7 separate regions of the Homo sapiens genome follow, and all the other regions are linked to region 7. The links are contacts of gene promoters, found by promoter capture Hi-C in blood cells and fetal thymus (Javierre and others, 2016). All regions are on one chromosome and are shown on one strand. Each heading gives the region's core, a stretch centred on a gene start or on the middle of the fragment in contact. The rest is flanking DNA. Distances are from core to core; before and after follow the strand shown.

Region 1 (4,307 bases), core at 1,287-3,786, 5.6 Mb after region 7:
GGGAGATCTTTATATATTCTGAATATTAAACCCTTATTGGGTGTATGATTTGCAAATAATTTCTCCCATTTTGTGGGTTTTCTTCACTTTTTGATATTGTTCTTTGATTCACTTTTAAATTTTTATAGAGTCCAGTTTATCTGTTTTTTCTTTTATTACCTATGCTTTTGGCATCATACCTAATTCCCAAATCCAATGCCATGAAGATTTTCTGTTATGTTTTCTTTTAATAGTTTTATAGTTTTACTTTTTCTATTGGAGTTTTAAGTAAATTCTTGTATATTAGTGTGATACATTTTAAGTTATTTTTGTATATGGTGTGAGGTAGGGGTCCAACTTCACTCTTTTCCATATGGAGATCCAGTTGTCCCAGCACCACATGTTTAAGAGTCTATTCTTTCCCCACTGAATGGACTTGGCACCCTTGTCAAAAATCAATTGGTGGTAAATGTATGGATTTACTCCTGGAATCTCAATTCTATTCTATTGTATTTATATTTCTGTCCTTATGCCTGTACCACACTGTTTTGATTACAGTAGCTTTGTAGTAAGTTTAGAAATTGGGAAACATGAGTCCTCCAACTTTGTTCTTCTTTTCAAGATTATTTTGGCTATTTGGGGTCCCTTGCAATTCTGATGAGTTTGAGGATCACCTTTTCCATTTCTGCAGAAAAGCCTTTTGATAGGGATTGCATTGAATCTGTAGATAACTTTGGGTAGTATTGACATCTTAACAATATTAAGTCTTTCTATGCATAAACATGGGATATCTTTCCATTTATTTGTGTTTTCTTTAATTTCTTTCAGCAGCATTCTGTAGTTTTCAGAGTACACGTTTTTCACCTCCTTGGTTAAATTTATTCCTTGGTATTTTATTCTTTTAGCTGCTATTGTAAATGCAGTTACTTTCTTAGTTTCCTTTCAGATTGTTCATTTCTGGTGTATAACAACAGCTGATATTTCAACGTTGATGTTGTACTCTGAAACTTTGTTGAATTTACTTATTAGATCTAGTAGCTTTCTTTGAGATTTTTATATGGGATTATGTCATCTGTATATAGAGATAGTTTTACTTCTTCCTTTCCATTATGGATGCCTTTTATTTCTTTTCCATGTCTAATTTCTCTGGCTAGAACTTTCAATATGATGTTGAAAAGCAGTGGTGAAAGTGGGTATCTTTGTCTTGCTTCCTATCTTAGGTGGAAAGCTTTCAGTCTTTCACCATTAAGTATGGTGTTAGCTGTGGGTTTTCATAAATGCCCTTTATCATGTTGAGGAAATACCCTTTTATTCCTAGTTTTCTGAGTTTTTATCATGAAAGGGTGTTGGATTTTGTCAAATGCCTTTTCTGTGTCAATTGAAATGATCATGTATTTTTCCTCCCTTATCTTAATGTAATGTGTTATATTGATTAATTTTCTTATGTTGAACCACCCTTGCCTTTCTGGGGTAAATTTCAGTCACTTATGTTATATAGTCCTTTAAATTGTGTTATCTTATAACAGAATCACTCTGCTACTGTTTTGAGCATAGGCCATAGGGAAAAGCAGGTAAAAGGTAATATGGCTTGAACCAACATTGTAGCAGCGGAAGTGGTGAGAGGAGGTCGAATTTTGGCTTTGTTTTGAAGATAGAACCAACAGTATTTGCTGACAGATTAGATGCAGAATGTGAAAGGAGGAGATGAGTCAGGATGAATCCAAGGCTTTTGGCATGAGCAACCAGAAAGATGAAGGTGACTTACTAAGATGGGAAATATACAAAAGGAGCAGTTTGGGGAAACTTTATATCTATTGAGTGGAATATGCCAATTAGAGATTCAAATATCCAGTAAATAATTGGCTATCAAAGTTTGAAGTTAAGAGGAATGGTCTAGGCTGTTTATATAACTTTGGAAGTCATTAGTGTATAACAGCTAATTTAAAAGCCAGCAGACTCTAAGGGAGTGAGTGTAGAGGGAGAAGAGTAGAGGTCTGTGACTTGAATCCTGGAATGCTGTGATGTTTAGAGATTGGGGAGGTAAGAAGGAGCAGCAGAGTATACTGAAAAGGGATTGTTATACTGAAAAGGGATTGATATAGATGGAGACTCAAGAATTATCACAGAAACCTGATAAAATGTTTCAAGAAGATGGGTGTGATTAATTGTGTCACTTACTGCCGGTACATTGACTCAGATGAGCGTTGAGAATTGGCTATAGGATTTGACAACATAAAAGTCATTGGAAACCTTGACATGAGCCCTTTTCGTGGAGTGGAGTGGTTACAGTGGGTTTAAGAGAGGATTAAAGGAGTGGAAACAGAGATGCTATTATAGATGACTCGTTTGAGTAGTTTTCCTACAAAGGGGAGAATAATAATGGAGCAGTTAGCCAAAAGTTGAGTTTTTTTTTCTTCTTCTTTTTTTTAGTTGGAAAAAATTGCGTATATGTTGATGGGTCTTTTCTGGCAGACCAGTAGAGAGGAAAAAGTTGATGATGTAGGAGATGGGAAAATGTCTTTGAGTAGATGTCTTCGAGAAAATGTCTTTGAGTAGATGAGAGGTTTGCACACATGGAGAGGTTGGATGTAGGAGTACTGATAGTTCATCCATAGTTACATAAGAAAAGGTAGATGTATTAGAGTTCTCCTGAGAAACAGAACCAATGGGAGATCTTTATATCTCTGTGTCCATCTCTATCTGTATTTCTGTCTCTGTATCTATGAAGAGATTATAAAAGTTTTAAGATCTGCCAGGAGACATACCCACGGGAGCTAATGGTATAGTTCCAGGCCAGTTGTGAAGGCCTGAGAACCAGGAGAGCCTATGGTGTAAGTTCCAGTCTGAGTCCAAGTCTGAAGGCAGGAGAAGACCAATGTCCCAGCTCAAAGACAGGCAGAGGGAGCAGATCTTCCCTTACTTAGCCTTTTTATTTATTCAGGCCTTCAACAAATTGAAGGCCCACCCACATTAGGGAGGGCAATCTGCTTTACTCAGTCTACTGAATCAAATGTTAGTCTCACCCAGAAACATCCTCACAGACACACCCAGAATAATGGTTAGCCAAATATCTGGGCACCCCATGGCCCACTCAAATTGACACATAAAATTAACCACCACAGTAGAGTATATGGGTACAAATATAATTATGTGATATAGATTTCAGGGTAAGAGCCTGTGGAAATTCATTTTTGATTGCTTCTAGTGAAATCGGAAGCAAGATCATCAGCTAAGAGTGACGATCGGTGGAGGAGATATGAAGTTTAAGTGGAGAGGAGAAGGTATAAAATAGTCTTAGGAGGGGAGGATAGTAAATAGATTAGGGAAAAGTTGTAGGATTGCCAGGAAGTAGTAAGGGCCCACTTGAGGCTGGTGGTCACAAATTTAAGGTGAGACCAGTCAAAATGGTTGTGCTTTTCACCTGCTGCATTCATTCAGCTGCATAGGTACAGGCACAGAGTAGGTCAAGAGTTCTTTTTTATTCGGGGTTAGAGTTTTGCCAGGAGATAGTAATAAAGCCAGAAGGGCAATGAATTTGAGGGAGTATGCAAGGAAGTGGCTGTTAACTTGGAGTTTAAACTAGTCAAGAAGAGAATTAAGGACTGCCCAAGGGGTGAGGACAATGATATGGTAGCAGGGCCCTTAAAAGCCCCAGTTAGATGAAAAGATTGTTGGAATTGAGTTTCTAGAGGGAATGAACTTGAAAAACAGGAGGTGTTGGTTGGAGAGTGGGATATATGGAATTGAGATTATGGAAGGATTCAGTCGTTGGTAATAACATAGTATCTTTGTAGGAATAAATAGGTGGAGCAGGATGCAGACAAGATCACTGGAGGAGGGCTGGTCAGAAGACTGGGAGGCACTATCTCCCTTGGATATTATACATCAAAGCTTGTGATCTACTAGACAAGTAGTGGGGAAAGGGTAGGATATAGATATTAATGGCTATAGTTTTGATGGTGATGGTCATGGTGATGATGATGGTCCATTAACACTCAACTCAAATACCATCAATTTGATTTATATCTAACACCACAAAGTTAGGTGTTGAGTTACATGTGGTTATATTGTAACTAATAGTCAGCCCTTCATGGACTTCTATTCTTTGATGAGACTCTTCTTGTAGGAGTAGTAGGTGCCTTAAAGCACCTTTTCATAGTTGTCAGATTGAAATCCTTCACCAGTGTTTTAGGTTAACCCTGTTACTGTGGAAGTTTCTCTTGGCTTTCTGTGTGGGCTGCTTCTTTGTCTAGTTTTACCTTTTGGGGTTAGCATACTATTGTGAATAATTTATTGGTGAGAAGGTAAGCAGAGAAGTAGAGTACTCT
Region 2 (3,994 bases), core at 899-3,398, 5.6 Mb before region 7:
CTAAGCATTCACTTGGAATAAAGGAAACTTTTTCACCAAATGCTAACGTTTTTTCTTTTGGATACTGTATAGACTTTGACATTTTAATTTAATGTATTTATTTTAAAAATAGGTTTGTGAATTTCCCAGACCAGCCGGTGGTGTGGAGAGAAATCAGCATTATTACATCAGCATTAAGGAACGATTCACAGGACAAACAAACCCAATTTTTAAGAAGTAAGAATAATGGTGTATAAGTTACCATTTCGGGAATACCAAATCATATATAGTAATTTCACACACAAAAAAGTCACACCTGGGGTATTGGTAACCATATGTATGTTTTATTCTTGGCAACCAAAGTCTATAATAATGTCACTCGGTTCCTTGACTTGCTTAGAACCCTTTAAGCTTCTTTAAAGGATATGGATTTATCAGTGAGACGAGGAATTAATTGTATATATTTTTAACAGGTTTTACAATAACCAGATAGCAGCTATAGATTAACCAGCTCTCCACAAAACAGGAGAGAAGCTTTTAGTAATTTAGAAGCTTTCTCTTTAAACTTCTGTATGTTGCTGTAGTCAATCAAAGATTTCAAACTCTAGATAAAATAGCAAGTAGATGCATAGGTCATTTGAACTTCAACAAGCACATGCTCTCTATCTCAACCTGCAACAGGCATTCTTGTGACCATTCACATACATCATTGTTTTTTGAATTTGATCAGTCTTGCAAATATTTTACCATTATTCAGCAAACATCCTGTGCCAGATACTATTGGCTCCAAAAGGCTGCCAGGTTGTAGGTGAAACTTAACTGCATTGATTTCACATGTAGTGTTTACTGTTCTGTACATGAAAATGCCTTACTCAGCACTGTTGCTGCAGTCTTTTCTGTCCGCAAGAAACTTTTAAAAGTGAAATATGTTTCGTACAGGTTTATTTGAAACTCTTCCTGGTCGGGTCCAGTGTGAAATGTTACTAAAGGTCACGGAACAATGCTTCAACACGTTAGAACGATCAGAAATGTTGCTTCTACTTTTGAGGCGCTTCCCTGAAACGGTGGTGCAGCATGGGGTGAGATTTGATTCTTCCCCTTCTTTTAATATAAAATACAATGGGTCATCAACAGATTCATCGGTATGGTGAGGAGCTACAAAGCAGAAGTTTCTGAAGAGTACTGGTTAAGATTGAACTGAAATAGAAGGTTCTTTGTTAGTAAAGCTAAAAGGACATTCTTTTCACCATATTTTGTAAGTTTCCAGGAGAAGCTGTTTTATCAGGAAAATCACCAAGCTCTGACAGTACTGTTTATTGCAATCCATATGGTAAAAAGTAATCTTTTTCCGTTGTATTCTACAATGTGCTTTTGAATTTAGCGTAGAGTTTATAGTCTTAACAGATGCGTTTTTCCTGTGCTTCTGCCCTATGGAGACTATTTTCATTCTATTCCTGCCCCTTTCCTTCATCTGTAATAATTATCGAGTGCTATTGGCAGGCATGGGAAAGTGCTAGGTATCTCCTATCTTCCTAAATCCCCTGAAGTAAATAGTATCCCACTTTACAGATGACGAAACTGAGCATTTTGTGTTTTAGTAACTTCCCATAGCCAGTGAGGTGTCAGGTTTCAAACCATTCACTCCATTCGTTCATACTCTGCGGCTTATTTCCCATGCCATTTTCTGGCGTCTGGCCCGGGTTAATCATTTCCATACCTGCTTGTGTTAGTCTCCTAGGGTTGCCATAACAAAGTACTACAAACTGGGTAGCTTAAAACAACAGAAGGACTCCCACAATTCTGGAAGCTAGAAGTCTAAAAGTCAGGTGTTGGCAGAGGCACTTTCCCTCTGAAGGTTCTGGGGAAGAATCTTTCTTTACCTCTCCCTGGCTTCTGATGGTTGTCAGCAATCTTTGGCATTCCCTGGCAGGCAGCTTCATCACTCCTCCAATTTCTGCTCCATCACCACATGATCTTCTTTCTTTTGTGCCTTTGTCTTTACATGGCCTTTTTTGTCGTTGTTTTTTGAGGCAGAGTCTTGCTCCGTTGCCCAGGCAGCAGTGCAGTGGCATGATCTTGGCTCACTGCATCCTCTGCCTCCTGGGTTCTACCAATTCTCATGCCACAGCCTCCTGAGTAGCTGGGATTACAGGTGTGTGTACATGGCCATGTTATAAGGACACTAGTCATTGGATTGAGGGCCTTTCTAATCCACCATGACCTCATCTTAATTAATTATATCTACAAAGATACTTTTTTTAAAAAAAAAGGTAAGATGTCTATGAGGTCACATTCTGAGGTTCTGCGGGGATATGAATTTGGGGGGGCACTGTTCAGCCCAGCACACTTTCTGGTCATAACTCTGACCTTTCACCTTCTGTGTGATGTAATCTTTCGCACTTTTCCACTCCTGTGGTGCATCCCTGTGTGGTCACAAGGAAGTTGATACCAGTGTCTTGGTGGATTTGAGTAAGGGACCGTCTACTATGCTAAGGCATTGGTAATGGAAAGGTAGCCTTAAAACTCTGACTTTTCTGTCCATTCTACACCAGACTGTATGACTGGCTACACCTCAGAACTTATCTTGAACGTGATACGTTTTGTCTATATTGATACATCTTCATGTAGAGAATAACCTTAGTTTCTTTATTTCTTAGAAAATCTCTCTACCTCTGTATTATCATTTGAACTCCAGTTCCATTGCTTCCTTTACATTTCTATAGACATTTTGTTAATTCTTGTTCATCGTTAATTAGAATTTGCTAATTATGAAGAGAATAACCAAGACAGAGTGGTCAGATGTTCAGGTGAATTTGGCCTTCTAGGGTGTGTGGCTGGTGCATTCTTTTATTTTCCAGTCTTTAAAATGTGATTATTTGTTTCTCAGATAAGTTTGATTATGCAAACTGTGATAAGTAAAAAAAATACCCCATTACTTCATATAGTTCTGACAACTTATGCTGTAACACATTTAAATGAGTAATTTTGTTTTGAAATAGGTTGGCCTTGGGGAGGCACTATTAGAGGCTGAAACTATTGAAGAACAAGAATCTCCAGTGAACTGCTTTAGAAAATTATTTGGTAAGGAAAATTGTATTCTCTATTACTTCTATGGTAAATTAATATGCTGGGGTAAGTGTTGGTTCAGGGATAAGCTCATATATGAAAGGCAAAGGAGCTTTATGTGTTATGGCATTTAAGTTCTTTTTTTTTTAATTTAGAAGCATTTTAGCTGGGTGCGGTGGCTCACGCCTGTAATCCTAGCACTTAAGGAGGCCAAGGTGGGTGGATCACGAGGTCAAGAGATCGAGACCATCCTGGCCAACATGGTGAAAACCTGTCTCTACTAAAAATACAAAAATTAGCTGGGCATGGTGGCGCACGCCTGTAGTCCCAGCTACTACGGAGGTTGAGGCAGGAGAGTCGCTTGAAACTGGGAGGCGGAGGTTGCAGTAAGCCGAGATCGCGCCACTGTACTCCAACCTGGTGACTGAGTGAGACTCTGTCTCAAAAAAAAAAAAAGCATTTTAAACAACTTCTAAACTTTTGTTATGTAAGATTTGATACCTCTGAAAGAATATGCATAGCTGTATATGTAAGTATGAAGCATAGTAATAAACATCTGAATTCAATGGAAGAACTGGACCCTCACCCACAGCATAAAAGTGTCTGTGTTTCCTCCCTGACTCCAGCCACTGGTGTCTCTCTGCACAGCACATTTTGAATACATGAGTCATAAGGGATTTTTCCCCCTATATATTTTAGATACTACATCAAATGAACTCTGAAAGCTTTTGTATTTATCGGAACTCTAGGGTAGACAACCTAATTAATTTATTTCTTCTTTTTCTCCTCCAACAGTTTGTGATGTCCTTCCTCTAATAATTAACAACCATGATGTTCGATTACCTGCCAATTTATTGTATAAGTACTTGAACAAAGCAGCTGAATTTTATATCAATTATGTCACTAGGTCTACTCAAATAGAAAATCAGCATCAAGGTAAGTAGGAATA
Region 3 (4,139 bases), core at 290-2,789, 8.2 Mb before region 7:
GGGGAAGTCTGCTGGGGAGCTGCTCAAAATGTTTTCTCAGCAATAGTAACAAATGACTGGGAGGAAGAAATGTCTCATGTTTTGGATATTTTTATGTGAGACAACCCTGATCCTCCAATTCCTATCTGTAAAATCAGCAATTGTGATTCCTGTCATGCAGGATTTTTGATAACTAAAAAATATATGTAAGACATTTGGAAGAGTATCTAGCACATAGTAGGCATAGGACGAATTACATTCCTTCTTTCTACTGCATAGAATCAGTGTGCTTGAATCTTTGCCTCTTAGCCTATAAGCTTCTAGCCAGCTTATTGTTTGTAGATCTCTCATAAGCTTACCTACAACTTATCTGTCTCTGGCAGAACTACTTCTGACTTTCCATTTAGAAAGCAAGTCCATTCCAGACAGTTAGTTTCTTCATAAAATTAGGCATGATGCAGGTAAATAACCTAAATTATTATCTTGCACACAGGAGATGTAAACAGCAATTGTTACTGTATTTTGTTCTTGTCCCTATCTTTAAAATAGTAGTGCCATTCTCCCTAGTCTTTAAAATTTGTTTTAATATTTTCTTTTGCTGCCAGTCTGCGGATTCCGTTGTTCTGATTGCCTAAATGTTTAGCCTTAAAACTTCTTGTAGAGTCAGCTCTTGTATAGTTCTCCCCCACAGCTGCTAAGCTTAACGTTTTGATCACAGCTATAAGACTTTGTCCCCCTATCTCATGGGATTCTGAGTAAGCTTAAATTCCATGCTCTTGTTTCTATAGAATTCATTCTCAGCTCATGAGGACTCACACACAAACTTGGTAACACAAGAGATATTGTAATGAAGGGATGTGTATGTCTGTGTTTCAACCCGTCGCATGTTATATATTTTTATGAAAAGCATTTATTATCAACAGTCAAAATTTGCAATTTTTGTATTAAAATTTCCAGGTTTCCTTTTTATTTATTTATTTTTTGAGACAGGGTCTCACTCTGTTACCCAGGCTAGAGTGCAGTGGCACGATCACAGCTTACCGCAGCAATCCTCCCACCTCAGCTTCCCAAGTAGCTGGAACTACAGGCACATGCCATCATGCCTGGCTCATAAGTTTAATTACTTTTGTTGTTGTTGTTGTTGTTTTGGTAGAGATGGGGTTTTGCTATGTTGCCCAGGCTTGTCTCTCAAACTCCTGGGCCCAAGCACTCTGCCTGGCTTGGCCTCCCAAAGTGCTAGGATGACAGGCATGAGCTGCCACACCCAGCCCAATTTTTCTTTATTTAATAGACTTTATTTTTAGTGTAGTTTTATGTTCACAGCAAAATTAAAAGGCAGAAGATTTCCCCTATGTCCCCTGTCGTCTCTAACTCTTCTTTTAAAATGGAAAATCTGGAAAGATTGGTTTCCACATAGCAACATTTGCTTCAAGCTGAAGAGTAGCTGTCTGCTTTGCTGGGCTACCCACTACCCATTTCACTAGTTTGCAATTCACTCCCTGTTGGACTACAAGGAGCTGCCTTCATTCATGTGTGTTACCTCGCTGGTGTAGTTATTTGATAGGAAAACTTCTTTATGGAAGGAAATAACATTAACTTGTAATAAAAAATTCTACAAGCATCTGTTATGCCTTAGCCCATTGAAGCTACAGAAATCTCCAAAATATCAACATTTTGACTGTGTAAATGCACTTTGAGCTCTATATAGTAAACTTTAAAATTATGCGTATCAATCCTGTAATTAAGTTAAAACTTTGACACATTAAATTATATTGTCTATTTGTAACCAGTGATTAAGACGTATAATTGCAGAGCGTATGACGCAATAAAGCATGGTACCATTTAAGAAATATCATACAGCTCAAGTGCTCAGTTAATTTTCTCATTAGAAATATTAGTCCGTTACTGCTTTAAAAAAAAGTTATGATAAGGCAGTCATTTCTCCATTGCTAGTTAAATCAGCTACATCTGCCCCTCCCCCCAACCTGAACTCCTTCCAAACCATTTCTGCTGTTTGCTCACCTAAGCCGAAAACCTGTGCCGTCTTCCATTTCCATTCAGTCTTCCATGTCTACTACCACAAGGTTCTAACAGTTCTCTCTGCCTCCAGCCTTTTTCCCTCTGCCTTTTCTTCCACATTGCTGCCAGAGTAATCTTTCTAAAATTCAAATTTGACCATGTCACTCCTTTCAGTAGTTTCCTAACTCTTGTCAAAAAAGGCCAGCCACCTTAACTTGATTCCTGGTTGTCACAGAAGATGGTGATGTGACTGGTGGAAAGATATCAACAAACAGAATGTAACGTTTCATATATGGCAAAGGCTATGGAGACTTTTGGAGAACTTGTGTTATTTTGTATCTGAAGCTTTTCTGATAGGGCTTCTCCATTTAAAATGTACACTGTATTTCCCTGATTTACTTTTCTGAGTATTAACTCTTTTAAATGTAACTCAGATATTATTTTTTCCAGAAGACCCCACTGCCGCTAGGTTAGGTGCTTTCTTCTGTGTTTTCATAGCTCTTTGTACATCTCAGTCATTATCATGTGTTCTATTAAAAAAATGTGAAATAAGTGCTCCATGTTAACACAGATTTCGAAAACAAACACAATTTACTTTGGAATTTCTCAAAATCTTTAATGTGCTAAAGTGGATCAGCATTCTCCAAGAGACAGCTATAGTATGAAGGATTTTCCAAACAACACTGAACCATTTTTGGAGCTATTTGTTTTAAATTTCCAGTTTCTTGCTTTTTCATTCTTATATCAGTTGTGTAAGTATGTGTGTGTGTGCAAGTGCTGTTGTCTTTTGTTGTTCTGATATTACATAAATTTATAGTCATCTTGTCTTTGCTCTTGAGTTTTTTATGTTTCAATTTGTTGAATTTGGTGCACAGTTTGCGTGATTTTTTTTTATTCAAACCTTTATGACGTTCTCGTTTCTGTATTTGAGCTTCCCTGTTGACTTGTTTGTGAATACTTACTGTTTGCCATAGTCTGCTTCTGGTGATGAAGAATAAGAATGACGAGTCCTTAGGTAGGGCAAGTTGATAGTTATCTTCTGGAAAAGGAGGCTTCCTGGGGAGTCAGTAGCTGTCATGGGGTTAGTAACTTCCTGAGGAGTCTCCGCTAGCTTAGAGGCTGTCTCTGTGTTAATCTGAATGCAAATATTACTGCTATTTACCAGCAACAAGCTGGAAACAAGCTAGGAAAAGAGGCTAATTCCCTAGCCTACCTGCTGCTCCACGAATGTCACCCTGTTGATTAATTACTCTGAGAAATGCTCCTGACCTGCCTTCTTCCCCCCAAACTCTTAGTTTGCATTGACCTGGTTCAAGGGCTTAGAGGACCTTCAAACTGCTCCAAACTTTATATTGGACTTATGTTTTGGATTGTGATTTTTTTCCTTGTTTACTTTCTTTTTCTTCTTTTTTTTTTAAATGTTCACTCCTTTCTTACATGTAATCCTTTCTGTTTGTCAGTTTGCTCAAAATTTATCTGTATATGGTAGTTTTTGCTTTTCAGCACTGTTATGGATTTGCTTTTTAAAAATCTGTTTTGTACTTCTATCAAAACATCACAAGTACCCCATAAATATGTATAACTATTATGTATCCATAATAATTAAAAATAAAAAATCTGTTTTGATTTTTTTATCTAAATCATAGAGATTTAGATAGGATGTTTGTCTGTCTGTTCTCCATCTATTCTAAGCACTTGAATCTTTTATTTGCAAGATTCACCTATAAACGTTACTTGAGTTACCCAACACTGAGGAAAATGCATGACATCATTATCTTGAATTGATCTTTTTAGTAACTTGAGTTTCTCATCACACTGTATGCTCATTCAGAGCACAAAACACCCCATATTCATCTCTGTATTTCCATTTCCTTGCAGGATGCTGGATATATGGTTGGTGTTCAGTTAAACTGAGTCTTATGAAATCAAACTAAATATAAACATAAATACAAAATATAAACTAAGTGGGCTGGCTGCAGTGGCTCACTGAGCGCCTGTAATCCCAGCACTTTGGGAGGCTGAAGCGGGTGGATCGCCTGAGGTCAGGAGTTCGAGACCAGCCTGGCCAACATGGTGAAACCCTGTCTCTACTAAAAATATAAATATTAGCCGGGCATGGTAGCAGGCGCCTGTAATCCCAG
Region 4 (4,077 bases), core at 84-2,583, 5.6 Mb after region 7:
AAGATTAGAGGTTTTATCTGTAAACTAAAGATCAAATAACTTGTATTTATTAGCACCAACTTTAACCAATGGAATCCTCATATAAGCCAAGTGTCTCTTTGGTGAGACTAGTCCCACATATAGGGGACGGTTTTGGATAAAATAATTCCAAGTAAGCTGAGGCAGATGTATAGTGGCGGCTGGGGGTAGACTGTGCTTTATTAGAGTTGGAAGGATCAGCTTCATAGGAAATCTGAAAGGCAGTTTGGCCTAACTGAACGGGCACAATCGTTGGCTTTGGTGTAAATTTGGGTTCAAATACATTAGTTCTGATATTCTGAACCAGTTTATAAACCTCTGGAAAATCATATGAAAATGGGGATAATAGGGTTGTTATAAGGATTAGGAATAGTAGCTATAAGGGGCCCAGCTATGTCTAGTATACAGTGGGTGGTCCATAAGCAATAGTTATTACTACTAATAAATCTTAATTGACTCTTCCTTTTCTTACCACCTGCTCTTTTAAAATGGTCATGGTGAAACTTCTCTAGGGACCAAATTCATTTCTTTCTTTTTTTTTTTTTTTTTGAGATGGCGTCTCACTCCGTTGCCCAGGCAGGAGTGCAGTGGTGCCATCTCAGCTCACTGCAACCTCCGCCTCCTAGGTTCAAGCGATTCTCCTGCCTCAGCCTTCTGACTAGCTGGGATTACAGGAGCGTGCCACCATGCCTGGCTAATTTTGGTATTTTTAGTAGAGACGGAGTTTAACCATGTTGGTCAGGCTGGTCTTGAACTCCTGAACTTAAGTGATCCGCCCGCCTTGGCCTCCCAAAGTGCTGGGATTACAGGCATGAGCCACCACACCCAGCCTAAATTCATTTCTGAAATTACCTGTCAATCATGCTCGTCAAAAATATTTTCTGAAGATGCACTGTGTATTGAAAAGCTGGAGGAACTGACCTTTCAGTTCATGTCATCCCAAGTCAAATCTGTTTTCTATTCATCCTAAACTGTCATATAGAAATCTGGCAAGAGCGTGGAGAACAGTTCAGTGAAGTAGTAACCCTTCTTTCTTACAGTCTATAGATCAAGCTCACAGGGCAATTTCTAGATTTTCAAAGAGCAGCTCTGGTCTCTATTATGTTTCAATTGTCTTCTGAACAAATAAATAGGATGGAGTGGGTCCATGTGATAGTGAAAGAAATTAATGCCCTTACCCACTTCCAATAGGGTACAGTGTACAGGAGGGAAGAAGGAAAGAGGATTATAATGAATGGAATTTTAGAATTCTATTTTTACAACTGATTATAACATGAGATACCCTTTTTGGAACATTTACTAAGCAGCAAAAGATTTTGTTCTATTGACATTCTAGACTGACAAATCATTGGAATAAACCACATTGCTAGTTTGAAGAACCAAGAAATAAAATACAACAGTCTCTGAAGTAAATTAGCAAATGATAAGGAATGTTGTGAATTTGGGTGTCTGTATATATCTTTATCCTTACTCCTACATCATTTTCTATGGCTCTGTTGTTTTATTTTGCTCGGCAGTTTTGGCACGTAGGTGACTTCTTTTGGTAAAGTTGCTTAGAATATCTGATGGGAAGCTGAGGAAAGTTTCTACAAAATGGCAAGGGTAAAGAACTGCCAAACTAAACTATTCTCTCAAATCCCACTTAGATTTCAAACACCACTGAAAAAGAAGCAATCAAGGATTTAAAATGTATCTGCTATTTTGAGAAGAGGGAGGAGAAAAGAGAGAAAACATTTTCTAACAACAGCCAATTCATTCTATAGAATTTGTTGAAAACAGACCAACCAAATTGCTATTTTGAACCACCACCAGGGCAAAGATTAGTTATCATATGGAATGTTTCCGTAATGGAATTTATGTGCACAGAAACTTTTGAAATTAGCAAAATACACATGCATATGCACTTGAAAATACACTTCAGTTACCCTTAAATGGAGTCTCTGATAAACAAATAGGCACTAAAAGAGAGGTCTAGGGAGAAACATGTCACTCTTTTTTAAGCCTCTTCACTGGCAGTGGCGGGGCACTGCATAGCTGAGGACTGGGGTGCTTAAATACATGCTTCTCTGCATTCCAGCCTGGGCGATAGAGTGAGACTGCATCTCAAAAAAAAAAAAAAGTAATAATAAATAAATAAATAAAATAAATGCTTCTAAGACAAAACCCTTGTGTGCTGCTTCTTCTCTTTTCCAATCACCATCCTTTGACGTTTCTTAAGGCTAAAAAAAACCCCCAAACCATTAGATGTTTAATCTTTGCATACCCTAGTAGTTACAAGTCCTCTAAAACAGAACCATACAGTTCACAGGTCAGTATCCTTTCTGATGGTCTTTGTCAGACATCATTATTTCTAGCATAGGATATTGGACAGGATCAACAAAAAGGAATCGAAGACAGTAGGGACCACTACCATGACAGCTGCAGTATTATTTGGCAATGTGATCTATGGTTATTTTAGGAAAAATGGCATTTCAGGAAGTGATATTAATCTGTAAAATTCCTTTGCCATGCAGAATATAAAAAATGATTACAGAATATGCAGAAAAAAGCAATGCTCCTTCCAAATAATGAGATATTTGATATAATAAGGAGATGGGAAATAATCAATATTTAAAAATATTCCTTTTAAAAAATTAAAGTTTAGGATAGTTACGTAGTTAGTATACAACAACTTGGTCTTAATAAGGACTAGAAACAAAATTTTATTTTGTGTGGCTAAAGAAATACATACATATTATAAAACTGACATTTTTTTGCATTGTTCCGTTGGGTATCATCACAGGTTGCTGCATCATTATAGTTGTTTTTAATGTAAACAGATAAACTCTCACACTTTCCAACTCTGGTATTATCCATCTATTTTTCCTTTCACAGTCCACTGATACAGAATTTTAAACATTTAGAGTAGGAGGGAACCTTAGCTTCCAGCACAATACTGTTCATCTTTCACATGAGGAAATCATCCAACAGAAGTTGAATGATTTACTCAGGGTCAGGCCGCACCTTGGCAGAATTACGTCTTATTATTCTTTCTCAAATGCTCTTTTAAAGGTTAAACAGAGGTTGAGTTTTGAGAATGACTTATTTCTCTTAGATGAATTTCGTTACAGACAAGCAAAATAATCAGCCACTGTCTTTCTCTTTTCTATTTTTTCTTTTCTGTTTGCCACCTCTAGGCAACAACCTCATTGAATCCACAACAAAATCCTGAAGATTTCTGTATTATCCAAGAGAACCATTTTCTTTAAGAAAAATAAAATACTAAATATGTTTTGAATATAAAAGTTTCTGATAAAAGTAATCCTGACTTTAATCAGATCAAGTAAGATAATCAGATTTATACCATTATTTTGATAAAGACAAAAAAAACAACATAAGCTTTTTTTCCCCAGTCTTACACTTTGAGCAACTCTTTTAAATACTATAAACACTTTTCATCAGGGACAATTTTTCCCTTTCCCTAGGAAAATGAAAACCGAATAGAAAAATTTTTTGCAAAAATTAAGTTTAAGAGGGTAAAATGTGAAGACAGAGAACTGCTACTTAATCAGAAATAAGTAAACAATATTAAACAGGAAAGTATATATTCCATTTAAATGAGTTTTTTTCTTCATATTCATATCACAAAGTAACTTCACTATAGCAGCACTAATTCATTATGTTTTTATTTACTGGTGGATGTCACTGGCCTCAATAAAAATATGTAATTTTTCATAAGAAATATTCAAAAGAACATAAAGTTTGAAAAATATAATTTACCAGAAAGCACCAACATGGGAAGCTCTTCAATTAAGGATGGGAAATTATTAATATGCTTTAGCCTAAATTTAAGCAAAATTCATTCCTAAAGATGAATTTTTAATGAATTTTATAATGAATTATTCAGCATGAAAATAAAGGGAGCAAACTTTTATGCTTTTAAAATATGTTTAAGAGGATCTTATCTTTTAACAACACCTCTTTCATTTTGTAAACAGGACATTATGCTACCAAATATAGAGTTATTATTCTAAAGTTTAAAGCAATGCTTTAAATTTTTAAACCTTATGACATGTTCAT
Region 5 (3,742 bases), core at 893-3,392, 5.4 Mb after region 7:
GCAGGCGGCGCCGCCGGGACACGGCGCCCTAGGAGCAGAACAGCGCCCTCGCGTGGCTTGGCGGAGAAACGGTCCGAGGAGGCCAGGGTCCCTCTTTTCCCCACCCTGCCCCAGACCAAGCTCTGCTGGTTCTCCCTTTAAATATCCTGATCTCTGGGAACTTTGTCCTCACTTTAGCTTCCTGCAGTACTTTGCAGCGCTCTGGACAGGGAGTTGGAAAACTTGGGCTTCCCTTAACATTGTCTCCCCAGAGTCTAGCACTCAATAGCAGGCATTCAATATTGATGGAGTAAATTAATTATTTCCAGCCTCACCTGTAGCCCCTAACATCTCGAATCCTCCCTTTCGACATTAGAAAAGTGAAATGATTGTTCTGTAGGATAATCTGTGGCCCTTCCAGCTCCAGAGCTCTTGGCTATATTTTCTGCAATGTGTACTGAGTTGTAATGATTTGTTCATTCAACAAATATTTATTGAGAGACAGAACAGGGACCCCTCTTAGGGGCCATCTAGGCACCCCCCTCCCCAAGCATGGAAATAAAGGAAAATCTTGAGTTCCCTGAAGGGACATTCCAGGCACCTAACTTCCTCAATAAGTCAATGAGCAACCTGATAAGCAAGAAGGTAATAATAGCTTAAGACAGTAGCCAAGGACGTTAGATTCACAAAATGTTTGCTTCCCTATAGAAACTAAAGACGACATATGTCCCTGAGTTGTTTTTCAGAAACCTGGACCTCACCAAATGGAAAATGGTGTCCACTGGCATGGAGATCTCAAACTACCTATCTTTGTTCTAAATTTCTTCCTGAGGAGCCTGGAAGAATTCACAAAGCTTTGCCTCCTTAACCAATTGCAAATCAGAAAATCTTTGAATCCATCTATGACCTGTGGGTCCCTGCTTCAGATATCCTGGCTTTTTAGATCAAACCCACGTATAGCCTCCATGTATTGATTTATGACTTTGCCTGTAACCTCTGCCTCCCTGCCTTTAAAAATCCTTACCTGGGCTGGGCGCAGTGGCTCATGCCTGTAATCCCAGCACTTTGGGAGGCCGAGGCCAGGAGTTGGAGACCAGCCTGCCAACATGGTGAAACCCCTTCTCTACTAAAAATACAAAAACTAGCTGGGCATGGTGGTGGGCGCCTGTAATCCCGGCTACTTGGGAGGCTGAGGCAGATGAATCACTTGAAATCGGGAGGTGGAGGTTGCAGTGAGCCGAAATCTCGCCATTGCACTCCAGCATGGGTGACAAGAGTGAAACTCTGTTTCAAAAAAAAAAAAAAAAGCACACAAAAAACCCCTTACCTGTAAACCATCAGGGAGTTGGGGTCTTAAGCATGAGCTGCCTGATTCTTCTTGCTTGGTGCAATGCAATAAATGCCTCACTTTCACTACAAACCCCAATGTCAGTGTTTGGCTTTGCCGTACTTGAGGGAGGACCTAAATTCAGTTAGGTAACATGAGCAGCTGCTAGCTGCCAGATACCTTGAATAGCATGTGCTAAATGATCATACTGTGTCTATTAAAGGTACATACTACTGCGGCTGAACCCAAGTGGAAGGTAACATCCTGTATCAGAAAGCAAGGGTTCTTGTGTTTGCTAACCCCCTAGCTATGTCCTTGGGCAATCATCAAACCTCCGTAAGCCTCAAATTCTTCATCTGTTAAAATCAATAAAAGGCCTACCTTTGTGAAGATTAAGTTTTAAAAGTGCCTGCCCAATAGTACGGTATGGGAGCGATATGTTAGTTGCCTTACCCCTCCTAGGGAACAATTACAGAAAGCTTTAGAAAAGCGGTAATTGAACTGAATTTTCAACCTTCTCTCAAGGCAAAAGCTTGAAGTTGCCTGGAGAAGAGGAAAGAAGGTCTAAGGAATTTTTTTGTGCGTGTGCCAGTAGACAAATGAGTGAAAGACCATTCATTGTCTGTTTGGAAAGCTATAAATTCTCCTAGCAACAGAAATAGATTATATTGTTGGAAATAAGGCTGGAAGAGCTCCTGCTCTCAACAGCTTGTAAATAGCAGCAAACCAGTTGAACAAAACACAAAAGGTGATGAAACAATACTGGTGAGATATCATTGCAATAGATATTACATTCTCTGAGGAGGTTAGTCTATAAGGCTTTAAAGGAGGCTGGGCCAGGTGCAGTGGCTCACACCTGTAATCCTAGCCCTTAGGAGGCTGAGGTGGGAGGATCACTTGAGCTCAGGAGTTCAAGACCAGCCTGGGCAATATGGTGAAACCCTGTCTCTACGGAAAATTAGCCGGGCATGGTGGCGCATGCCTGTAGTCCCAGCTACTCAGGAGGCTGAGGTGGGAGGATCATTTGAGCCCAGGAGGCGGAAGTTGCAGTGAGCCAAGATTGCACCACCGTAACTCCAGCCTGGGCAACAAGTGAGATCCTGTCTCAATACATACATAAAAAAGGAAGCTGATTTTCGGCTAAGCTTGGAAAGCTCGGAACAAAAGTGAGAATGAGAATATGTTCAGGGTTCCTAGAGAAGATGGACTGAAAACAAAATATACCCTGAGGGCAAGTGGGAACTGTGGATGGTAGTTAGGGAGGGAGGTCCTTGAAATAGAAGCAAATGTGTTTGAAATGAATGTGAGAGAATATTCTTAGAGGTGAGTAGGTGTTTGTGAAAATAGTACTTCTAAGAAGTTTAGTCAAGTAGTGATGTAGAACAAAGAAGAATACTTTCTTTGAGTAGTTCCTATATACTAATGTTTTTACATGTAGCTTCTCATTTAATGCTCCAGTAACCTCATGAGGCTGGTGTTATTATACTTTCCATATTACAGATGAAAAGAAAGACAGGTAGAGGTTTAAATACATGTTCAAGTCACACAGATAGTACTGGTGGGGTACAGATTAACACTCACATATGAGTTCTACTCCATGCTTTATGTTCTATGGTCCCTGCAGTGTGGATGGGAACATGGAAAGCCCAAGAATGGTAGATTGGCCAAGGGGCTTGATGACTTACAATATCAGTTTTTGCTATTTTGGTTGTGACGGTCTCTTAATTATAAATAAGAACAATAATTCTTTTTTTTTTTTTTTTTTGAGATAGGGTCTCACTCTGCCACCCAGACTGGAGCACAGTGGTACGATCTTGGCTCACTGCAACCTCCACCTCCCAGGCTCAAGCGATTCTCCTGCCTCAGCCTCCCAAGTAGCTGGGATTACAGGTGCATGCCACTACCACCCGGCTAATTTTTGTATTTTTAGTAAAGACAGGGTTTCAACATGTGGGCCAGTCTGGAAGAACAATAATTCTTAAACTTATTTCTTTTTTGCTTTCTGCTTCTGTCAGACGTGTGTGTTTGTGTGTGTGTCTGTGTGTGTGTGTTCTCCTTCAGAACATAACCATCAACCTCCAATCCTTGCTAAATTACTTGTCATGCCAAACTGCATTTAATCTTAGGTTTATAGGCCAGATCTAATTTTCTTTTTTGACCTAGAGGTTTTCTTATTGTTATTCTGTTTACCTCTCTCCTTTTGGTTAAATAATTAAAAAGAAATCTTCCACAGATTATTTGCCTTAAAAGTACATGTGAGATTTTCTTCCTACTTAATTGACTAGGCTCTTTTAAAATATATAAACATTGATATTTTTCCTAATGTATTATATACCATTTAAAATATGAAATATGAATCATTTATATCTTGTAATGTATCCACATAATTATATGCTACAATTATACATTGTATGGGTCTAAAAATGATTCTCCTAT
Region 6 (4,277 bases), core at 1,507-4,006, 5.3 Mb after region 7:
GCCAGGCTAGTCTCAAACTCCTGACCTCAGGTGATCCACTCGCCTTGGCCTCTCAAAGTGTTGGGATTACAAGCGTGAGCCACTGCACCCAGCCCTTGTTTATTTTTGAATTGTATTTTGCAATATTTAAGATAAACAAAGTACCTGTATAAAGAATAATACAATGGCACATCCACACCTCTTAGCTTAAGAAATGTAGTACTACCACACTGTCTAGTTCTACATAGCTATCCCAGTTGCACCCTTCTCCCTGTCTCCCTCCCCCAAGAGGTAATCAATGTCTTAAATGTGGTGTTTATCATTTCCTTCATTTATCTGTTCTTGGGAATAATGTTCATCATCAAAAAATAAATATTCATATAAGGGATTAATGTTCTTTTTGTTTAATTTTCATATATTTAGAAAAATAAGAAAAAAATCATAATTGCACCAGTCTAGCATAACCATTTTTCCTTGTTGACATATTTAAAGTTGTATCTGTGGATTCCATCAACTCTGTCATTTCTGGGTCTGTTTCTGTTGATTGATTTTTTTTTCTCCTGCTTGTGTTACCTTCTGCTTTTTGGCATGATGGTGCAGTTCCAGTCCAAAGGCAGTCTGTTGGGAAATCACTCTTACTCGGGGAAGCTGTTCTTTTCTTTCTATTCAGGCCTTTAGCTGACTGGATGAGGCTCACACACATAATGGAGGGCAATCTGCTTACTCAGAGTTAAGTGATTTAAATGTTAATTTCATCCAAAAACACCATCCCAGCTGACATATAAAACTAGTCATCACACACTAGTGTACAGACTCCATGGTGTGCAAGAATCTTGTCTTATTTGTGGCTATATCTCCAGCATCTGTAACAGCACCTGGGGTGTGGTAGGTGCATCATATTTATTGTTCATTGGATGAATCAAGTCTATGTGATTTTGGTGCCTAGTCTGAGCCCAGAAGGTCAAGGCTGCAGTAAGCCGTGATCTCACCACTGCACTCCAGCCTAAGCAACAGAGCGAGACCCTGTCTCAAACAAACAAAAAAATTAGGTATGGTAGTGCACACCTGTGGTCCCAGCTACTCAGGCGGCTGAGGTGGGAGGATCACGTGGGCCTGGGAGGTGGAGGCTGCAGTGAGCCGTGATTGTACAACCACACTGCAGCCTGGGCAACACGATTGGACCCTGTTAAAACAACAACAACCAACACACACACGTAGCCATCTTATTTTTTAGGGGGGAAAAAGAGACTACTAAAAGAGCAATTTCATAAGCCTAAATGTAAAAGCTAAAATACAAAGCTTTTAGAAGAAAATATAGAGGCCGGGCACGGTGGCTCATGCCTGTTATCTCAGCACTTTGGGACGCCAAGGTGGGCAGATTGCTTAAGCTCAGGAGTTGAAGACCAGCCTGAACAATATGGTGAAACCCTGTGTCTATTTAAAAAAAAAAAAAAATAGGAGAATCTCTCGACTTCAAGAAAAGCAAAGGTTTCTTAGGACACAGAAAGCAATAATCATAAAAGAAAACTTAGATAAATTGTCATCAAAATTAAAAACTTCTCATCAAAAAGTCAGTAACAGCTGGGTGCAATGACACATTCCTGTAGTGCCAGCTACTCAGGGGGCTGAGGCAGGATTGCTTGAGCCTAGGAGTTTGAGACCAGCCTGGGAAACAGAGCAATCAAGACTCTGTCTTTTTAAAAAATAATAATAATAATAAAGGCCGTGTGCGGTGGCTCACGCCTGTAATCCCAGCACTCGGGAGGCCGAGGCGGGCGGATCACAAGGTTAGGAGCTCGAGACCATCCTGGCTAACATGGTGAAACCCCTGTCTCTACTAAAAATACAAAAAAAATTAGCCGGCATGGTGGCAGGCGCCTGTAGTCCCAGCTACTCAGGAGGCTAAGGCAGGAGAATGGCCTGAATCTGGGAGGCGGAGCTTGCAGTGAGCCGAGATCGTGCCACTGCACTCCAGCCTGGGCGACAGCCTCCGTCTCAAAAAAAAAAAAAAAAAAAAGCTAGGCACGGTGGCTCACACCTGTACTCCCAGCACTTTGGGAGGCTCAGGTGGGTGGATCACCTGAGGTCAGGATTTGAAACCTGCCTGACCAACATGGTGAAACCTCGTATCTACTAAAAATACAAAAAATTAGCCAGGCGTGGTGGCGGGCGCCTGTAATCCCAGCTACACGGGAGGCTGAGGCAGGAGAATCGCTTGAACCTGGGAGACAGGGGTTACAGTGAGCTGAGATTGTGCTATTGCACTCCAGCGTGGGCAACAAGAGTGAAACTCCATCTCAAAAAAGGCTTTTTTGTTGTTGTTGCTGCTGTATGATTCATGTATATAATATTCTTGAAATGACAAAATTAAAGAGATGGATTTTAACTCAATTATACCTCAATTAAGATGGAGGGGGAAAAAAGGAGACGGAGACCAGACGAGTGGTTTCATGGGGGTTGATGGTGGTGAGGGTAGAAAGTGAGGTGGTTTGGCTGTAGAAGGGTAGCATGAGGAATTCCTGTGATGGAACTACTCTATATCTTGACTGTAGTGTTCAGAGAAATTGACACAGGTGATAATATTGCATAGAACTAAATCACACATGGCCGGGTATGGTGGCTCACGCCTGTAATCCCAGCACTTTGGGAGGCCGAGGCGGGTGGATCACGATGTCAGGAGATCAAGACCATCCTGGCTAACACGGTGAAACCCCGTCTCTACTAAAAATACAAAAAATTAGCCGGGCGTGGTGGCGGGCGCCTGTAGTCCCAGCTACTCGGGAGGCTGAGGAAGGAGAACGGCGTGAACCTGGGAGGTGGAGTTTGCAGTAAGCCGAGATTGTGCCACTGCACTCCAGCCTGGGTGATAGAGCGAGACCCTGTCTCAAAAAATAAAAATAAAATAAAAAAACTAAATCACACACACAAATGAGTATCTGTAACTGGTAAAATCTGAATGAAGTCACTGGATTGTGTCAATATATATTTCCTGTTTATGGTATTATACTGTCCTTATGCACAATTTTAACACTGGGGGAAATGGTAAAGGATTTATGCAATCTCCGTGACCTCTTATAACAACATGTGAATTTATAATTATCTCATAAAATGTTTAAAAAAGCATACAGTGTGAACAAAGCCTTATCCAAAGAGTACATTTTGTATAATTTACAGAAGTCCTAGAAGAGGCAAAATTAACCTATGGTGGAAAAAAATCAGAGCAATGCTTGCTCTCTGTGCAATGCTTTTTGCTTTTTGTTTTGAGACATGGTCTCTCTCTGTCGCCCAGGCTGGAGTGCAGTGTCACAAACACAGCTTACTGCAGCCTCCACCTCCTGGGCTCAAGTGATCCTTCTGCCTCAGCCTCTGGAGTAGCTGTGACCACAGGTGCATGCCACCACACCCAGCTAATTAAAAAATGTGTTTTTTTGTAGAGATGGGGTCTCACCATGTTGTCCAGGCTGGTCTCAAACTCCTGGGCACCTCAGCCTCCCAAAGTGCTGGGATTACAGGCATGAGCCGCCACGGTCAGTCAGTGCTTTGTATCTTGCTTGGGATTTAGGTTGCACTGGGTATGCATACATTGGAACTCAAGGAATGGTATGCTCATGATGTGTCCATTTCATTGTGTTTAATGATATGCACGATGAAGTATGTATATCATATGAAGTATGTGAAGGAAACCAGAAGGTGCCACCCCAAGATATGCCTCTTTGAGATAAAAATTATTTTTTGGCCAAAGGCAATTAAGGAGCAGAAAACAGGCCAGGCGCGGTGGTTCACACCTGTAATCCCAGCACTTTGGGAGGCCAACGCTAGAGAATCACTTGAGACCAGGTGTTCAAGATCAGCCTGAACAATATAGTAAGACCCCATCTCCTGGAAAAAAAAAAAAAGAAAGGAAAGAAAAAATAAAAATTAGCCAGTCATGGTGGCATGTGTTTGTAGTCCCAGCTACTCAGGAGGATGAGGTGAGATGATCGCTTGAGCCCAGGGGTTCCAGGCTGCAGTGAGCTATGCTTGTGCCACTGCACTCCAGCCTGGGTGACAAGAGTGAGACCCTTTTGGTGAGAATGGAGACACCAGTAACTTACAGCTTAACAATCACCAATGAGAACTAAGAGCTCTAAATCAACCTGATTTTACTGTTCCAGGAATTCTTACTCACGAAGATAGGCTATAGGTCAATCCATACCTTCATTCTGAGCTTTAGGAACTTCCCATTTATCTGGTCTCTAAGTTGCTCATCAGGCTGCAAAGCTTCCTTCTCAGGCACTGAGAAGTTGAGCTGATCATTG
Region 7 (3,802 bases), core at 411-2,910:
TGGGAGAGATTTAGAGCAAAAATATTTATGACTAGGTTTAAATATTTGTCTTCCATGAGTAACATAGCAGAGATACTGCATTAAAAAGGTCAACCAGAAGTTTGTTTTTGAGAAATATTACCAATTTTGAACATACTAAATCTTTCTTAGAGTAACAACATACGTTTTAGATAACAGGTAGTAGCTAAGTACAGAACAGGTTTAGAAAAAGTTAATAGTGATGAGAAATGTAAACTTCGTGAACATATTTTCGGGGTAGCATTCATGATAACTCAAGAACTCGAATTTATACGAATTCTGATTTTAAATGAGTATTAAATCTCTAAGACCAAAAGAACATAAAATTATAGCCAACAAACCACACTCTGGTTCGAATTTTCGGAGCATGTTTACTCTACACTGAATAATCGGAAAGCCATTTTTAATGCCACTGGACAATTTCACTATTTAAAAATTTACAGTGTTCCCCGAATGTGCAGGCAGCAGAGTATTTTGGCAACCAACACAGCGAGACCCATTTACCTTTACCTTAGACTCGTAAAGGCTGAGTTACTTCTAGGTATCATTTAGCAACGCAATAAATGTCTGCCTCGAACAGTGAAAATTTCCCAAAGGAGCAGAACAACTTTCATGGGTGGGGCAAAAGGCTGGGAAGGAAGAGAATTCGTTTTGGCTTGCTCCAGCGCTGGAAGAACACTGAGCACCACACTCTCCGCAAAGGCCTAACACAGCAAAGGCGACTGTCAAATCGATCCCTTTTGGGTCTGCTGTACCCGTCCTCTAGGGAATCAAAATAAGGCAAAATAATAAAAAGAGTACAGAGAAGTTTGGCGGCGGCGGGGCGTGGGGGCTTGAGGCATCTCAGAGAGGAGGGCAAAAATCAACAAGAAAATGCCCCCATTTTAAAAATCCTGTCTGCGACCTCGGATGGGAGATTTTGTTTATCCACGGGCAGTTTACTTCTGTCTCCCTGACCCATCTCCACAGGCTCTGGTGCTCGCCGCCACTTTCCGAGCAGATCATTACTCAGCACCGGAGCCGGCGCGCCTCCTCCCGCAGGCGGGAGCGGGGTCTCGGGGAGAGGCGGGAAGAGGCGCGACCGCCCGGGCGCCCAGGTGACCGCGGCCCTCCCCGCGCCCCCGTCCCCGCGCCCCCCGCACCAAGCATCCGGGAGACCCGGAGCCCCCGGGCCGAACCGCGCCGGCCCCCAGGCAGCTGAGGCACTGAAGGGCAGGCTCGGGCACGGGGGTCCTGAGGGTCGGGAGGAGGCCGCGGGGACCCTGTGCTGTCCCCGAGCGCCCCCAGCCCGCGCACGCCCACCTCCCAGCCCCTCTACCCAACTTCACCGCTGCCCCGCCAGCCGGTTCCGCACCGTCCGCCCTCGCCCCGACCCCCGGCCCGCCGCGCCCCCTCACGCCCCCGTTACCTTTCCGTTCTTGGGGCTGCCGTTCAGGAACAGGGTCACCCGCCTCATCGCGCTGCCCCCGCTGGGTCCTGAGTGAGCCGCCACCCTCCCACCTGGTCCTCCTCCCACCTTTTTCTCCTCCCGCCCTTCCCCTCCCTCCACCCACTCGGATTCGCCTCCCTTCGCCACCTTCCTGCCCTTGGGGACACACCACACGCACGCACTCTGTCCCACACCCAAGGTTCGGCCGGTCCTCCTTCCCACCCCGCCCCTAGGCTCCTCAGCCTGCCTGGGGCCCTTCCCCCACCTCTCCGAGACTGACACTCTGCCGTACCAACCAACCCGCGTCACCGGACAGAGTCCAGCCAATCAGCACCCAGTATCGGGCGGGCTCTGGCTAACCTAGCCGGGACGGAGGGAGGGAAGAGACGCTGAAGGCTAGTAGACGGGAAGGGGCATCAGCCAATCAGAGAGGCTCCTGGAGCCGGACGGCGGCTTCCAGCGTTACTGAGCAGGCGCACCCTCTAGTTTAGGTAGCGCTTATCTGCATACGAGGGCGGGGTCTGGGGAAAGGAGGTGGAGCGCTGAAAGGGACCCAAGCACCAGTCAGCCCCTCCTCCAGCGTTAGCCCCGCCCACAAGCCGGCCCAGCTAGGAAACGGCTGCGGTAGGGACGGACTGATTGGGTAAGAGCCAGCTCGTCGCTCTGTTAGGATTGGTTGAATGAGTCTTTTCGAAGTTTGCAGCATCCAATAGAAAGGTGGGAGGCGGAGTTAAAGCGCTAAGAGAAGCGTTACTCCGCGAGACTCTCCTGAAAAGTAGTCCCCGAGGTCACAAGGCAGTGGCAGGTGTCTGTAGTCCTCGGGTTGACTGCAGCTCGCGGTGGTCCCTCTCCGAGCCCAGGAAGCCACTCCAGTGCCGAGGGAGAGGCCTGGGAGCGCTCGGAGTGTGCGCGGACTGGAGAAGGGGGAGGTGGCGGAGTGATTCGTAGAGTAAATTCGGTACCGAGGGGCGGGGTCGGGGATTTGAATCGGTCGGCGGGCGGAGGAGGCGGGTGGAGGAGGCTGCCGGGCAGAGCGCAGGCCAGGATCAGCGCAGGCTGTGAGTCCAGGTCAGCCGTCGGGACCTCGGGCTCCGGGTTCGAAGAGCGGCTCCCGGCTGCGGGTGCTTTGCCAGGAGAGCCCTTCCGGACAGAGGAGCCGGGGTCTGGAAGGAGCGGCCGACGCGACGCTCGCCTGCCACGGGGCTCTGGGAGTAAGCCTGTCTGCCTGGCGGGCCTTCAGGTGCGGCGTGAGAGGTAGGATTGCATCCGCGCTGCCACGGGGCTGTTTCTCCGGGGCATTTCTAGGCACTTTGTTCGGCTTACCCTGCAGCACAGAATTAGTACTCCTGTCAGGAGCTGCTCTGGGTGACCAGGAGTGCATCCGGACCTGTTGAGAGAATTTCTGGAAATGGATAGAGCTGCGTCTTGAGAGGGGTACCCTTATGATTCAGGTTTTCGCTACGGTTGAAAAGCCATGGCTTATCCTTTGGGGTCTGCTTTGGTGCCTGAACAGCAGTTTTCTCCATTTCTTTCTGTTTAATTTGGCTTTAAAAGTACGCGCTTAGAGTAAAAGAATGGTTAGCACAGGGTGGGAAGTGTATTGGGGATGGATGGGAAGGAAGTGGAGATGGTTAATAGGTAGAAAAACAAAGAATGAATAAGATCTAGTATTTGCTAGCACAACAGGGTGGCGGTCCATAATTTAATTGTGCATTTAAACATAACGAAGTATAATTGGATTGTTTATAACAAAAAGGATAAATATTTGAGATAATGGCTACCTCATTTACTTTGATTTGATTATTACGAATTGCATGCCTGTATCAAAATATTTCATGTACCCCATAAATTATACATCTACTGTATACCCACAGAAATTAAAATAAAAAATGAAACCTGTGACGTGTGTTTCTATGCCAGTATGGACTGTATTACAATTCAGTCCTGAATAAGGTACGTGATCGAATCACGTTCATCTTGCTGGTGGGGTTATTTTTCATTGTTTTTCTTCACCTCTTAGATGGATGCCAATTCAAAAGACAAGCCCCCTGAAACCAAGGAGTCTGCAATGAATAATGCTGGTATGTGATGATCTGCCTCCTTGTGAAGTTGAAGGTTTAGACAGAGAGTTGTCCTCACCCCTACAATATGTCGTCCGTTTCAGGAAATGCCTCTTTCATTTTGGGAACTGGGAAGATTGTGACTCCTCAGAAGCATGCCGAATTACCTCCTAATCCTTGCACACCAGATACTTTTAAATCACCTTTGAACTTTTCCACAGTAACCGTAGAGCAATTGGGAATTACACCTGAAAGCTTTGTTAGGAACTCTGCAGGTAAGAAAAGTTGTCATTCT

What was found. Contacts are between HindIII fragments. The CHiCAGO score rates a contact against its expected background, and 5 or more counts as called.
Region 1: a contact is called between a fragment that was not itself captured here and the fragment with the promoter of KCTD9 in region 7, in 2 of 17 cell types (naive CD8 T cells and activated CD4 T cells). The highest score is 6.3, in naive CD8 T cells.
Region 2: a contact is called between a fragment that was not itself captured here and the fragment with the promoter of KCTD9 in region 7, in 2 of 17 cell types (total CD8 T cells and activated CD4 T cells). The highest score is 7.3, in total CD8 T cells.
Region 3: a fragment that was not itself captured here is called in contact with the fragment with the promoter of KCTD9 in region 7 in 3 of 17 cell types (non-activated CD4 T cells, total CD4 T cells and naive CD8 T cells); the score reaches 7.5 in non-activated CD4 T cells.
Region 4: a contact is called between a fragment that was not itself captured here and the fragment with the promoter of KCTD9 in region 7, in 1 of 17 cell types (total CD4 T cells). The highest score is 5.6, in total CD4 T cells.
Region 5: a fragment that was not itself captured here is called in contact with the fragment with the promoter of KCTD9 in region 7 in 1 of 17 cell types (total CD4 T cells); the score reaches 8.9 in total CD4 T cells.
Region 6: a fragment that was not itself captured here is called in contact with the fragment with the promoter of KCTD9 in region 7 in 1 of 17 cell types (naive CD8 T cells); the score reaches 8.1 in naive CD8 T cells.

The regions. Positions count from the first base shown.
Region 1 is chr8:31,038,439-31,042,745 of GRCh38, forward strand. All of the region lies in intron 1 of WRN (WRN RecQ like helicase), which reads left to right. Among named protein-coding and RNA genes, the nearest start is that of WRN, 6.8 kb to the left of the region's middle. The HindIII fragment of the contact is 2,663 bases long and covers 1,206-3,868 here.
Region 2 is chr8:19,819,461-19,823,454 of GRCh38, forward strand. INTS10 (integrator complex subunit 10) reads left to right here. Exons shown (of 17, transcript NM_018142.4): 3 at 113-216; 4 at 919-1,058; 5 at 2,979-3,060; 6 at 3,841-3,981. Among named protein-coding and RNA genes, the nearest start is that of INTS10, 4.0 kb to the left of the region's middle. The HindIII fragment of the contact is 3,239 bases long and covers 530-3,768 here.
Region 3 is chr8:17,251,229-17,255,367 of GRCh38, forward strand. All of the region lies in intron 1 of VPS37A (VPS37A subunit of ESCRT-I), which reads left to right. Among named protein-coding and RNA genes, the nearest start is that of VPS37A, 6.3 kb to the left of the region's middle. The HindIII fragment of the contact is 1,604 bases long and covers 738-2,341 here.
Region 4 is chr8:31,021,422-31,025,498 of GRCh38, forward strand. It overlaps a transcript of PURG not described here. Among named protein-coding and RNA genes, the nearest start is that of PURG, 9.9 kb to the right of the region's middle. The HindIII fragment of the contact is 4,121 bases long and covers 1-3,394 here.
Region 5 is chr8:30,812,884-30,816,625 of GRCh38, forward strand. No RefSeq gene overlaps it. Among named protein-coding and RNA genes, the nearest start is that of PPP2CB, 1.9 kb to the left of the region's middle. The HindIII fragment of the contact is 613 bases long and covers 1,837-2,449 here.
Region 6 is chr8:30,736,679-30,740,955 of GRCh38, forward strand. The region is part of intron 1 of LOC105379356 (a long non-coding RNA gene); the gene reads left to right. It overlaps LOC105379355 (a long non-coding RNA gene), which reads right to left. Exons shown (of 2, transcript XR_949634.2): 2 at 4,105-4,277. It also overlaps a transcript of UBXN8 not described here. Among named protein-coding and RNA genes, the nearest start is that of UBXN8, 5.3 kb to the right of the region's middle. The HindIII fragment of the contact is 2,961 bases long and covers 1,277-4,237 here.
Region 7 is chr8:25,456,773-25,460,574 of GRCh38, forward strand. It overlaps KCTD9 (potassium channel tetramerization domain containing 9), which reads right to left and starts at 1,661. Exons shown (of 12, transcript NM_017634.4): 1 at 1,427-1,661. The coding sequence starts at 1,474. CDCA2 (cell division cycle associated 2) reads left to right here and starts at 2,461. Exons shown (of 15, transcript NM_152562.4): 1 at 2,461-2,701; 2 at 3,468-3,528; 3 at 3,612-3,782. The coding sequence starts at 3,468. RefSeq lists enhancers at 710-759, 2,130-2,359 and silencers at 1,370-1,419, 1,780-1,989. The HindIII fragment of the contact is 4,823 bases long and covers 1-3,760 here.